Linked DNA regions of Homo sapiens: region 2 is linked to region 1. Evidence: promoter capture Hi-C in human tissues and cell types (Jung and others, 2019). All regions are on one chromosome and are shown on one strand. The core of a region is centred on a gene start or on the middle of the fragment in contact, and the rest is flanking DNA. Distances in the headings are between cores, read along the strand shown.

What was found. The method cuts DNA at HindIII sites, captures the fragments that hold promoters and counts their contacts. A contact is called where the count stands out against the background at its distance.
Region 2: a fragment that was not itself captured here is called in contact with the fragment with the promoter of ASIC1 in region 1 in 1 of the 25 tissues and cell types used here (neural progenitor cells).

The regions. Positions count from the first base shown.
Region 1 is chr12:50,056,324-50,058,853 of GRCh38, reverse strand. ASIC1 (acid sensing ion channel subunit 1) reads right to left here and starts at 1,258. Exons shown (of 12, transcript NM_001095.4): 1 at 938-1,258; 2 at 1-103. The coding sequence starts at 87. RefSeq lists silencers at 1,056-1,225, 1,296-1,455. The HindIII fragment of the contact is 14,217 bases long and covers 1-2,530 here.
Region 2 is chr12:49,996,970-49,999,499 of GRCh38, reverse strand. RACGAP1 (Rac GTPase activating protein 1) reads left to right here. Exons shown (of 17, transcript NM_001319999.2): 9 at 229-359; 10 at 2,296-2,460. Among named protein-coding and RNA genes, the nearest start is that of AQP6, 25 kb to the right of the region's middle. The HindIII fragment of the contact is 4,436 bases long and covers 1-2,530 here.

The DNA.
Region 1 (2,530 bases), core at 9-2,508:
GCCGTGCAGTGTGGAGCTGCTGGCGAAGGCCTGGATGCTCACCGGCTGGACGCCACCCACCTCCTCCTCCTCGGCCTTCAGTTCCATCCTTGTTGAGGGGATCCTGGGGGAGGAGGGAGGGACAGTCTATCATTGTCCTGGGATGAAAGTACACATGGAGCCCCTCCACATGTGCCCATCCAGAATCCTCATCTCCAGAGGTCACCACTCCTCGGGCAGAAGACTTCCCTGCTTTGCAAGCCCAGAGGTGGCTGACCAAGGGACACATCCAGGGTTCCTCCAAATACAGAGGCACAGGGGGTCAGGTCAGGCCAAGAGAATGCTCCCCAGAGAAGCTTCCCAGGCCCGGGGAGACCCCAGATATAGTCATCCGAGGTTGAGGGGGAAGTCCTGATGCACCCATAGGCAGGCGCAGGAGTTCCCTCCAGATGTGGGGTCACTCTGGGACAAGAATATCCACCCCATCCTGGAGATGAAAACTCACCCAGATGGGCTGACCCCGGGGTAAGGAGCTCCTGTCCTGGTCACGGGTATTCCCTGGACGGGGCTGTGGTCCTAAGGGCTAAACTGGGGCCAGAAAACCCCCAGGGAGGTGGCTACATCTAGGGAGGGGCCCAGCCTGAGTCCTCACCTGCGGGTGTCTCCAGTTCTCACATAAGCGCAGGCTGTGTGTATGTTGGGAGTGGGGGGTGGCGGGCTGCCCGAGGTGGATGTATGGAGGGGGGGCGCGGTTCCCTATGACAGCGAGCTGTCCCCGCCCCGGACGCAGCCCCCCCCAGTCCAGCTTCTCGTCGCAGTCAGATCCCCAGCTCGGCCCCCGCCCCCCTCCCCAGCCACCGAGCCGCCCCAGCAGCAAGGGAAATCCAGAGGGAGGAGAGTCCCGGCTTCGGGGTACCGAGGAGCCTCGCGGCCAAAGGCAGGGGTATCGGAAACCCACCTGAGGGGGCTTCGGCAAGCCGGCAGCCGGCGGCGGGTCCTGGGGCGCTGGACCGGTGGCGGGCTCAGCGCCGAGTCGCGGAGGGGCTCATGGCCCGGGGCCGGAGCCCGCGGCCGCCGCGGCACGCCGCGCAGAGCCCTGCAGGGAGCGCCCCGCCCGGCCCCGCTCGGCTCCGATCTGTCCGCCCGCCCGCGCGCGCTGGCTCGCTGGCTCGCTCGCCTCGGCTCGGTCTGCCCGGGCTCGGCGCGGTGCGCGGTGCTCTCAGCCCTGGGATCTGCAGGGATCCATCGTCCGGCCGGGAGGCGGCGGGAGGGGAGGGGGAGGGGAGAGGGTGCGCGTGCGCGCCTACGAGTGTCTGCGAGGCTGTCTCTGGGCTGGTGTGCGCGCGGGGCCCCGGATCCGGGAGCGGGACCCAGGGCTCCCCGCGCCGCCTCGCCCCTCCTCGCGGCCGCTTTCGGCGGCGCTGCCTCTCTCCAGTCCCGGAGCCGTCTCCCTGCCTGCGAGGCCCTATGGCTTGTGTGTATGACTCTGTGTGTGGTGTGTGTGCGCGCGCGCGTGTGTGCGCGCAGGAGGGAGGGTGTCTGCCCCTAGCGTCCCTCTCCCCGCGCTGTCTCCTTCGGATCGATGCTCCTGCCTCTTGCTGCTGCTTCCTCTGGTGGCACACACGCGCGTACACACACACATACACACACACGCTCCGAGTCACACTTGACTAATTCAAGCACTTAGCCCATATGGAGACAGACACACATACCGACCAGAGTCACACCACACCATTCACAACCACACCCCCCCGCAACAGATGTCCACGTATCCCGGGGGCCTGACCCACATGGCAAGCACTCACCTGCTCTTATCCCTGCTCCCACCTGCATGTGACACATATACACGTGCACATATGTGAGCCAACACGCAGCCTTGACCACTCAGATCCCATCCTTGTAGCTTTGGGCTTGTGGGGGGCATGGTCGCAACCCCTTACTGCCAAATCTCCAAAGAAGGAGCAGAGAAAAGGAAGGAAAAATAGCCAGAGGTCAAGGGAATTTGGACAGAAGGAAGGAGGCAAAGGGAGTGAAGGGGACAGGGTGAGGAAGGGTTGGAACGGGGAGCTATGCTCAGGGATGGAGCAGAAGTCTCAGCACAGAACGCAGGCCTGGGGGCTGCTCCTGTGGCTCTCACCTTTCTCCTTCCCTGCCTCCCTCCTCTTCTCTGAGAGGCCTTGGGGAGGGGGGCCCTCCCTATCCAATTAACAGAGAAGGAGCAATCAAGGGGAAGTTGTTAATTTGCTGATGCTCATTAGGGGCTCTTAGCACAGAGGCTGTTGAGGTCTGATGGTGTCAGATGATGAGGAGGAGGGTGCGGGGGACCAGAGTTCTGTCTCTAGTGGCTCCTTCGCTCTACTTGCAGGCTGGTGCGGCTCGGGGAGAAGGATGGTGAGAGGTGTATTCCTAGGACATGGTGCCGGGCTTTAAGTTAGAAGAAAACCTGTAACGAGAAGGGGATGGCACATTGGAAAGAAGTTGGATGAGAAGTTGGGAGTAGTGGACATCTAGGAAACCAGAGAAGGGGTCTGGAGGTCCCTAGTGGGAGAGT
Region 2 (2,530 bases), core at 10-2,509, 59 kb after region 1:
GCTGCATACCGAGGACCAGAGAACTGCTTGTGTCATGCTTTACCTTTGAATTGCTAGCCCACTGGCATAACTTTAGTTTTTCTTGAAACTGTTTTTTTACATAGCCATTAGTTCTCACTTTTGGCTATGATAACAGATTACTGTTTATCTCCCAGTTAAAATTGGAGCTAAAATTTAGAAGGAGCAAAATACTTAAGACACAAAGCTTAAAAGTTGCTTGTTTTCTAGGTACTTTACAACCTTGGAACAGTGACTCCACCCTGAACAGCAGGCAGCTGGAGCCAAGAACTGAGACAGACAGTGTGGGCACGCCACAGAGTAATGGAGGGATGCGCCTGCATGACTTTGTTTCTAAGACGGTAAATCTGTGATTGTTGTTTGTGTTTTAATTTTTTAATTGTGAAAGTAATAAATACCAGGAATAAAGTTAAATACTTTAGTGTTATAAAGTTAAATGTCAAATTTCCTTCCTCATTCCAATTTTACTCTCCAGAAGTAACTATTGGTTACAGAGGTAAGTTTCTTTCCATTCTGTGAGTAATACTAAATTAAAGAGACCAACTTTTCTGAAGCAATTGTTAGTACTTTTTTTTTTTTAATTTGAGACAGAGTCTTACTCTGTCACCCAGGCTGGAGTGCAGGGGTGTAATCATAGCTCACTGTAGCCTTAACCTCCCAGTCTCAAGCAATCCTCCTGCCTCAGCCTCCTGAGTAGTAGGGATACAGATGTGTGCCACCACGCCCGGCTAATTTTTAAATTTTTTGTAGAGACTTGGTCTTGCTATGTTGCTCAGGCTGGTCCTGAACTCCTGGGCTCAAGTGCTCCCCCTGCCTCAGCTCCCAAAGTCCTGGGATTACAGGCATGAGCTACTGTGCCTGGCCCATTGTTAGTACTTTTTAGTGACACATGTTTACATTTTTTCTTGAATATATCACCTAAGATTTTCAAAATGTTTTGCTTTTGTACCATTTTATTTCCTTATAAAAATCCAAGCAAATTAACTGAGGCTCAGAGGAGTTAACTGACATTTTTGAGCCACATGATAGTAAGTGACAGATTTCACATCCAGGTTTTCTTTTTTTCTTTTTTTTTCTTGAGACAGAGTCTCACTCTGTTGCCCAGGCTGGAGTGCAGTGGTGCGATTTCGGCTCACTGCAACCTCTGCCTCCCGGGTTCAAGCAATCCTCCTGCCTCAGCCTCCCGAGTAGCTGGGATTACAGGTGCCCACCACCATGCCCGGCCAATTTTTTGTACTTTTAGTAGAGATGGGGTTTCACCATGTTGGCCAGGCTGGTCTCAAACTACTGACCTCAGGTGATCCTCCCGCCTCAGCCTCCCAAAGTGCTGGGATTACAGGCGTGAGCCACCATGCCCTGCCAACATCCAAGTTTTCTGCTCTTTGTAAACAAGTTCTTTCCACTATCACACACTGCTGCCTTCCAGTGGGATGACCTTAAACAAGTTACTTAAACTCTCTTTGCTTCTGTTTCCTCATCTTAAAATGAAGAAAACAAAACCTATTTTATGGGATTACTGTGAGAATTACATATGTAAATATGTCTAAAGGGCTTAGAAAATTTTTTGGCACATACTAAGTGCTCAATAAATGTTAGTTGATTATGGCTGGGCACAGTGGCTCACGCCTGTAATCCCAGCACTTAGGGAGACTGACGCAGGCAGATCACCTGAGGTCGGGAGTTCGAGACCAGCCTGACCAACATGGAGAAACCCCGTCTCTACTAACAATATAAAAATTAGCCGGGCGTGGTGGCGCATGCCTGTAATCCCAGCTACTTGGGAGGCTGAGGCAGGAGAATCGCTTGAACCCGGGAGGTGGAGGTTGCAGTGAGCCAACCTCTACCACGCCATTGCACTCCAGCCTGGGCAACAAGAGCGAAACTCTGTCTCAAAAAAAGACAAAAAAAGGCCAGGCCCAGTGGCTCACGCCTGTAATCCCAGCACTTTGGGAGGTCGAGGTGGGTGAATCACAAGGTCAGGAGTTCGAGACCAGCCTGGCCAACATGGTGAAACCCTGTCTCTACTAAAAATACGAAAAATTAGCTGGGCGTAGTGGTGGGCACCTGTAATCCCAGTTACTCGGGAGGCTGAGACAGGAGAATCGCTTGAACCTGGGAGGCAGAGGTTGCAGTGAGCTGAAATCACACCACTGCACTCCAGCCCAGGCGAGAGAGTGAGATTCGGTCTCAAAAAAAAAAAAAAAAAAAAGTTAGTTGATTATGATGATAATTTTCTAATTCATATCACTCTGTTCCTTCTGCCCTGTTTTATCCCAGGTTATTAAACCTGAATCCTGTGTTCCATGTGGAAAGCGGATAAAATTTGGCAAATTATCTCTGAAGTGTCGAGACTGTCGTGTGGTCTCTCATCCAGAATGTCGGGACCGCTGTCCCCTTCCCTGCATTCCTACCCTGATAGGAACACCTGTCAAGATTGGAGAGGTATGACTTATGCAAGCCGTCATTGTTTTATGGCCTCTTTATTCGCCTTTCAAAGGCTTAGTGTCAGTTT